2 separate regions of the Homo sapiens genome follow, and region 2 is linked to region 1. The links are contacts of gene promoters, found by promoter capture Hi-C in human tissues and cell types (Jung and others, 2019). All regions are on one chromosome and are shown on one strand. Each heading gives the region's core, a stretch centred on a gene start or on the middle of the fragment in contact. The rest is flanking DNA. Distances are from core to core; before and after follow the strand shown. Region 1 holds the start of COA4 (cytochrome c oxidase assembly factor 4 homolog). Region 2 has its middle 20 kb from the start of FAM168A.

What was found. The method cuts DNA at HindIII sites, captures the fragments that hold promoters and counts their contacts. A contact is called where the count stands out against the background at its distance.
Region 2: a contact is called between a fragment that was not itself captured here and the fragment with the promoter of COA4 in region 1, in 1 of the 25 tissues and cell types used here (mesendoderm cells).

What each region holds. Positions count from the first base shown.
Region 1 is chr11:73,874,089-73,878,443 of GRCh38, reverse strand. COA4 (cytochrome c oxidase assembly factor 4 homolog) reads left to right here and starts at 1,598. Exons shown (of 2, transcript NM_016565.3): 1 at 1,598-1,687. It overlaps PAAF1 (proteasomal ATPase associated factor 1), which reads right to left and starts at 1,445. Exons shown (of 12, transcript NM_025155.3): 1 at 1,376-1,445. The coding sequence starts at 1,422. RefSeq lists enhancers at 1,208-1,277, 1,298-1,347. The HindIII fragment of the contact is 11,350 bases long and covers 1-4,355 here.
Region 2 is chr11:73,615,822-73,620,176 of GRCh38, reverse strand. No RefSeq gene overlaps it. Among named protein-coding and RNA genes, the nearest start is that of FAM168A, 20 kb to the right of the region's middle. The HindIII fragment of the contact is 9,742 bases long and covers 1-4,355 here.

The DNA of each region.
Region 1 (4,355 bases), core at 349-2,848:
ATCATTAACCCTCACAATAACCAAACAAGATTCCTTTTATTATTTTAGCACCTGCCCAATCATCCAAATCCTGATCTCTTCACCCTAGCACTTTTAGGGTATAATGGAAAGGGTCTATGCATTTAAGACAGAAAGATCTAGGTTGACAGCAACCCTCTATCATTTGACGAGATGCATGATCTTGGGCAAATTAAGCCTTCTGATTCTGGTGCTGTATTTTCTCATAGGTAGCTAGTGGCACTTCATGTTATTGTTCTTTATTACTTATCACATTCTGTGTACTAGCAACTAGTCTGTATTTTAGCCCACCTAAATTAAGTAAGGTATAAATTTAGTAAGGTGTAAATTTCTTAAATGCAGAAGGCTATGTTTCATTCATCTTCACCATTGTTTCAATTTGAAAAACCCTTATTAGTAGTAGCAGTTGCCAAATATAGCACTGCTATATTCATCCTGAAGCCTAGAGAAATAACTGGAATAGTATAAGATCAATAAATGTTAGATGAATGAATAGTTTGCTGTGTATTCCTAATTAAGACGTCAGCTTTTCTTCTTTTTTGAGATGAGTATCGCTCTGTCACCCAGGCTGGAGTGCAGTGGTGCAATCTCGGCTCACTGCAACCTCCACCTCCTGGGTTCAACCGATTCTCCTGCCTCAGCCTCCCGAGTAGCTGGGATTATAGGCGCCCACCACCAAGCCCGACTAATTTCTGTATTTTTAGTAGAGACGGAGTTTCACCATGTTGGTCAGGCTGGTCTCGAACTTCTGACCTCAACTGATCCACCAATCTCAGTTTTCCAAAGTGCTGGGATTACAGGCATGAGCCACTGCGCCTGGCCTGGATGTCAGCTTCTTGAAGAGCAGGAACCATCACTTATATTTAGAGTATACATCTGAGCTCCACCAAGCATCCAGTATGGGGCCTGGACACAGTATTAGTTTCCTTAATAGTATCGTCCAGTATGCCTAATATAGCATTAGGGGCCTAGGAGAATACAAAGGTTCCATCACATACACAAAGTGGTGGTGAGTACAGAGACTTCTGGAAGTAACTGACGACTAATCAATATTTGCTAAATGACTGCTTGGCCAAAAGCCTTCCTGCCTCCCAGTATCCCTGTCTTTCTCCAACTCACTGATACTAGTTCTGACGCGGGGATCACACAGCTCATGTGCTCCCTTGGCCTAGGGATAGCTTTTCAGAGAATGACCATACGGGTTTGATACTTCTTTTTCCGGACCCTGTTCCCTCCATATCCCTCGACAATTGACGAAGTAACCCCTATTGATATCCTGGACCAGGCATGGCTCTCCTTGACGCAAAGCAACATCCACTACCCGCCTCCTCTGACTCTGTTCTGGGCCTGGATTCACCTGAGGGCTTGCGCCCAGTCGCTCTGAATCCTCAAAGGCGCCGCCATCTCGACCCCGCCTCCACCAGCCCACCTCTTCCGCCCCTTCCCGGAAGTGAGTCCCCGAGAAGCGTGCGGCGAGGACAGAGGTGGGCTCAACACCAAGAGGCCACCAATGAAAACGTGACTTTTTCACATTCCCCGCCCCTTCCGTGTGCACGCTCCCCACGAGGGGCTGGTTCCTGAAAGGATGTACAGAGGATCCCCAACCGCCTGCGAAACCCAAGCCGCCGCGTAGGAGCGTGCGTTCGGGCCCTCTTCTCCCACCTGTTCGGTGAGCATCGCGTACCGCGTTCTTCAGGAGGCGTTGCGGGCACAACGGGGCTGCGATCAGCGGCCGCGCGCGCGCATGCGTCCTCAAAGTTCAAAGTCCTCGATACGCCTGAGGCGCCTCAGGCCTCGTGGCTGCCAGCATTTTTCTGCTTTAAGATCCTTTCCATGACTTCCTTGTTTAGGCCAGCCTCCACGATCCAGCTGCCAACCATCTAGCCTACCCTGATCTCTGAGCAGGGGTCGTCGTCATTTTACTCCAGAGGAGACTGAAGCCAAAAGGTGGTGAGAGGAGAGTACAGCAGCATTTACTGAGTCCTATAGTAGCCCAAGCGCTTTTCATTCGTTATATTAATCTTCATTCTAATTGTGCGAATTAAATATTATTAATGGGAAAACTAAAATGAAAAAGATTACATAGTAAGGCGTAGTGCTGGGATTTGAACACGGATCTCTTGGTTTAGGATCAAGGCACTTTCTATTCCACTGTTCTTTCTCTAAATTATTTGCTCCTGGCCCTATTTAAAGAGTTAACAGTGTATTTAGGAAGAGAAAACTATCATTTATTGAACTCTTTAGACATACCAGCCTCCTTACAAACCTTACCTTTTTTTTTTTCTTTTTTTTTTTTTTTGAGACAGGGTCTCCCGCTGTAACCCAGGCTGGAATGCAGTGGCGTGATCACGGCTCACAGTGTTGCCCAGGCTGGGCGCAAACCATCCTCCCGCCTCAGCCTCCCAGTGTTGGGATTACAGGCGTGAGCCATGGCACCCGGCTTCATCTCTGTGCTTCCAGAGAGGTTATTAAATGATGTGTCCAAGGGCACCAAATGAGGCAGTGACAAAGCTAGGTCCAAGTCTGTTTCAAAGCCCATTTTCTCCCTCTTGCTTAAGTTATACCGCCTCCAAGGCAAATGAGTTGTGTAAAGTGCCTAACTCCCTCTTGTGATTCCCCATTGCCCTCAGAATAAAAAGTCTTAAACTCCCTACTATGTCCTACAAAGCCTTGTGATGATCACTTACTTATATCGCCAGTTTAATATTGTCTTATTCTCACACTGTATTCTCCCATCACTGAACTTTTTTTTTTTTTTGCTCTCATGTGTCAGATTCTATCTCAACCACCTGCTCTTCCATTGACCAAAAATAGTTTTCCCATCTCTGGCTAACTTCTGTTCCATCTGTCAAGTTTCAGCTTGGAAATCACTTCCTCTAGGAAGCCTTCCCTGCCTATTCCTGCCCTTGTCTGGATTAGGCATCCCTCCACTGTGGTCCCAGTCTTTGCTATCTGTACACTGTGTAGTAAACTGCCCTGTTTCCTTGTCTAGGTTGTAAACTCCATGAAGCCAGGAACTTAACTGACTTAGACAGTCTTGAATCCTCAGCACTAGCATAGTGCCTGGTACATGATAGGTACTTAATCATTTGTTGAGTGAATGAGAGACACAGTTAAGGCAATAAGGAGTCCTAGTTGCTTTACAGCCCATCATGGTGAAATTTTTGCAAAGGCTGAAGTCATTTCTCTTCAAACCTTAAGTTCCTTCTGTATGCTGCTTTCTGCTGAGTGTTCTGATGCAGACGGGCAAGACAGTTTGGGCAAATAAATACACCTCACATTTTTGTATAGTTTACAAAGCCATCTCACCTTATAGACCCAGAGGCCAGGTTTCTGCATACTGTATGCTACAGCCACAGTGAACTCTTTCCATCCTTCCCATGTGTCAAAACCTACCCATATTTGGGCACTCTTTCACTTTGTTTGTTTGTTTGTTTTGGAGATGGAGTCTCACTCTGTCACCCAGGCTGGAGTGCAGTGGCACGATCTTTGGCTCACTACAACCTCCGCCCCTTGGGTTAAAGCGATTCTCCTGCCTGAGCCTCCCGAGTAGCTGGGATTACAGGTGCCTGCCATCACGCCCGCCTAATTTTTGTATTTTTAGTAGAGACGGGGTTTCATCATCCCGGCCAGGCTGGTCTTGAACTTCTGACCTTATGATCCATCTGCCTCGGGCTCCCAAATTGCTGGGATTACATGTGTGAGCCACTGCACCCAGCCTCTTTCACTTTTTAAACTTTGTTCTTCAGCATAGAATAAGGCTAGTAGGATAAAAGAAGAAAGGTTATTTATTTGAAACAGGGTCTCACTATGTCACCTAAGCTGGAGTACAGTGGCACCATCATAGCTCACTGCAGCCTTTGAACTCCTGGGCTCAAAGGATTCTCCCTCTTCAGCCTCTTGAGTACCTGGGACTACAAGTGTGTGCCACTATGCCCAGCTAATTTTTACATTTTTTTTCTTTTTTCTTTTTTTTTGAGATGGAGTTTTGCTCTTATTGCCCAGGCTGGAGTGCAATGGTGTGATCTCGGCTCTCCGCAACCTCCGCCTCCCGAGTTCAACCTCGGCTCTCCTGCTTCAGCCTCCTGAGTAGCTGGCATTACAGGCATATGCCACCACACCTTGCTAATTTTGTATTTTTAGTAGAGACGGGTTTCTCCATGTTGGTCAGGCTGATCTTGATCTCCCGACCTCAGGTGATCCGACTGCCTCAGTCTCCCAAAGTGCTGGGATTATAGGCATGAGCCACCGTATCCAGCCATTTTTAAATTTTTTTGTAGAGATGAGGTCTTGCTATTACCCCTGCTGGTCTCAAATTCCTGGGCTCAAGGGATCTT
Region 2 (4,355 bases), core at 768-3,267, 260 kb after region 1:
CATGAATGTATTGGACCAGTGTGATACCTCGTGGAAGGGAAAGACAATCAAGATCCCTGCAAATTAAATTATGAAATAGAGCTGAAGAGTTGATGTACGCCTGAAGTGTGATAGTGAAGGTGTATTGTTGGCTTTGCCAGCTGAAAGCAAACTACTTCTGGTGGTCCTTATTCACAAGGATAGAGAAAAACACATTTGCCAGATAATAGTTGCATACCAGGTACCACATATAGGATACGTTAATTTGCTCAAGCAATGAAACCACATCTGGTATAGCAGTTTCAACTGGAGTCACCACCTGGTTAAGTTTACAATAATCCACCATCATTCTCTAAGATTTATCTGGCTTCCTCACAGGCCAAATGGGCAAGTTGAATGGGGATTTGGTGGGTACCTCCACCCCTGAAGATCACTATGCCTTAATCTTTCAAGTTCTTGATTGAGATATTGATCTCTGCAGTCCCTCCAGGAATGTGGTATTGCTTTTGTTTTACTAGCTTCCTAAGTAGAAGCAGTTCTAGTGGCTTCCATTTGGCCTTTCCCATCACAATAATCCTCACTTTATAGGTTAGGGAACCAATGTAGGGATTCTGCCAGCTGCAGAGTGAGTCTACTCCAATTATGCACAGAACTGGGGACATAATCAGAGGATGGGTTTGGGGACCCACTGGGCCCACTGTGAGACGGACCTGAGCTAAAATTCCACCTGACATCCATAAGCCCCTATTTTGACTGATGGACCACCATGACATTTTAGGCCACCTGGAATTAGTGCCAGTTCAGTCAGTGTCCAGGAGTCCCCAAAAGGTCTGATTATTTTCTTTTTCCCAACACACAGTGACCCTGGTGAAAGGGTCACTTTCACCTTTCACCACGGTCACTGTGTATTGGGAAAAAGAAAATAAAAGATTGACAGTATAAATTTGGGGCTGTATATCAGGCTTCAGGTTCCTGAAGGGAACCTGGTCTCCCCTCCATTTAAGGGGTTCTGGGCTTATAAACTGGCTTAAGCCTGGGAATTGATTGAGCTTCTGCAGCTCTCTGTTTTTATGATTTGAGTTAGACTTTTGTCCACTTAACCTAGTACTTTTCTGCTTTCTACAGATCAAGTAAGAATTTAGTAGGCTTCCTATCTATTTCACTTCTAGGAACACCATGCTCAGCTAGCCAACGCCATAGATCTGTGCACATCAGACTATTCTCATTGCTGCTTTGACTCTGCTGTCCATTTTGATAACCACTCCCACCACACACACACACACACACACACACACACACACACACACACACACACGGGAACTGGCTCATGCTCTTATGGAGGCTTAGAAGTCCCAAAATCCGCAGTCAGAACATGAAGACCCAGGAGTACCTGGAGCACCAATGTGGCCTGAAAGCCAGCAGGTTTGAGACTCAAGAAAAGCTGAAGTTTCAGCCTGTCTCCAAAGGTAGGAAAAGACCTGATACCCATCCAGCTCAAGTAGTCAAGCAGGAGGAGTTTCCTCTTACTTAGCCTTTTCGTTCTGTTCAGGTCTTCAACTGATTGTATGAGGCCCACCGACATTAGGGCTTTATTTAGTTTTCGGATTCAAATGTTAATCTCTTCCAGAAACCCTCACAGCTACATCAAGACAATGGTTAGCCAAATGTCTGGGCATCCTCTATTTCAGTCAAGTTGACACATAAAATTAACCACCATAGTCATTTTTTTTTTCTGAGATGGAGTGTCACTCTGTCGCCCAGGCTGGAGTGCAGTGGCGCAATCTCGGCTCACTGTAACTTCCGCCTCCTGGGTTCAAGCAATTCTCCTGCCTCAGCCTCTTAAGTAGCTGGGACTACAGGTGTGTGCCACCATGCCCAGCTAATTTTTGTGTTTTTAGTAGAGACGGGGTTTCACCTTATTGGCCAGGCTGGTCCCAAACTCCTGACCTCAAGTGATCTGCCCACCTTGGCCTCCCAAAGTACTGGGATTAGAGGCCTGAGCAACTGCACCCAGCAACCACCATAGTCTTATAGGGAAAAACAAAATCTGCATTCAGGGAACTTCCAGGAGTTCAGTAGGAACAAAACTTTGAGTGTTTACTGGATTTTTCTCTGCCAGAATGTCTAAACATTCTCACAGTTATTGTCTCATTATGTGTCAGTCCCTCACACTCATCTGTGCAAGGTTCTAGGGCAGGACCTATTTCTCAAGAAGAAACAGACGTATCCATGATAACATGTGAGAGATTTTAACACACCTCTCTCTGTAACTGATAGAATATGCAAATTAAAAAAACAATAAGGGCAAAGAATATTTGAATAACACATTTAACATACTTGACCTTATTATTGACATATATGGAACATTGAAACCAACAACTATAGAACATATACTCAAGTGCACTTGGAATACTTATTGATATGCTAGGCCACAATGTAAATAGCACTAAATTTCAAAGAACTGAAATATATAATATAGCATATACTCAATGACCACAGATGGATTATGCTAGCAATAAAAAACAAAAAGAAAACTAGAATATCGGCTGGGTGTGGTGGCTCACGCTTGTAATCCCAGCACTTTGGGAGTCCAAGGTGGGCAGATCACAAGGTCAGGAGTTTGAAACCAGCCTGCCAACATGATGAAACCCCGTCTCTACTAAAAATACAAAAATTAGCCGGGTGTGGTGGTGGGCGCCTGTAGTCCCAGCTACTCGGGAGGCTGAGGCAGGAGAATCGCTTGAACCCGGGAGGTAGGGGTTGCAGTGAGCTGAGATCGTGCCATGGCACTCCAGCCTGGGTGACAGAGCAAGACTCTGTCTCGGAAAAAAAAAAAGAAAAAGAAAAAGAAAGCTAGAATATCCCAAAATGTTTGGAAATTGAGCAGTATACTACTAAATAACCCATGGGTCAAAAAACAAACCCCAGTGAACATTTAAAACCAGTTGAATCAAATAATAATGAAAATACAATAAGTCAAAACTTGTGAGAAGCAGCTAAAGCCATGCTTAGAGTAAAATTTATGGCTTTAAATGCATATATTAGAAATAAAAAATGGCTGAAAAATCTACTATCGAACTGTCTACCTCAAGTAGTTAGGAAAAGCATACAGAAATTAAGTCCAAATAAAGTAGAAGGATGAAAGTAGTAAAAAATGACAGAGGAATTTAGTAACAGAAAACCAAGATATGAAAGAGAGGATCAACAGAACCAAAAGGTAATTAGCTGATAAGACTACTAAAATTGGTAAACTTGGCTGGGTGTGGTGGCTCACGTCTGTAATCCCAGCACTTTGGGAGGCCAAGGTGGGTGGATCACCAGAGGTCAGGAGTTCGAGATCAGCCTGGCCAACATGGTGAAACCCTGTCTCTACTAAAAATACAAAAATTAGCCAGGCGTGGTGGCACGCTGAGGTGGCTGAGGCAGGAGACTCTCTTGAACCTGGGAGGCAGAGGTTGCAGTGAGCCGAGATTGCGCCTCTGCACTCCTGGACAACAGAGGGAGACTCTGTCTCAAGAAATAAATAAAAATAAAAAATAAAACAAAATTGATAAACTCCTGGCAAGAGTGATGAAGGAAAAAGGAGACACAAAAAACTATCCCTTCGGAATGGAAATAAGGCCATCACTACAGAGCCTACATTTATTGAACTATAGTGAGAGGATATTATAAACAACTATATTCTAGAAAACAACCATATTCTAGAACAACAGCCTACTTAATTGTCCTGTTTTAAGAAATTGATTCTGTTACTTATAAAAATCTCCCCACAAAGAAAACTCCAGGTCCAGATGTTTTAATGGTGAGTTCTTTCTAACATTTAAGGAAGAAATAATAATAACTTTATACAAAGTCTTCCAGCAAACAGAAAAACTGGGAATACTTCTTAACTCATTTTATCTGTTCAGCATTACCTTGATACGAAAACCTGACAAGAACATTATAAGGAAGAAAAATAACAGGCCAAACAAAGATGCAAAATTCTAAACAAAATATCAGCAAACCAAATCCAAAGGTCTATAAATAGGATAATACTACACAACCAAGTTGTGTTTATTCAAGGAATACAAGGTTGGTTTAACATTTGAAAACCAATCAACATAGTCTACCAAATTAACAGAATAAATTTTAAAATAATCATAGAATCATCTCAAGAGATGCAGAAAAATCATTTGATTAAAGTTACCACTGGCTGGGTGCAGTGGCTCATGCCTGTAATCCCAGCACTTTGGGAGGCCAAGGCGGGTGGATCACGAGGTCAAGAGAATGAGACCATCCTGGCCAACATGGTGAAACCCCGTCTGTACTAAAAATACAAAAATTAGCTGGGCATAGTGGCACGTACCTGTAGTCCCAGCTACTCGGGAGGCTGAGGC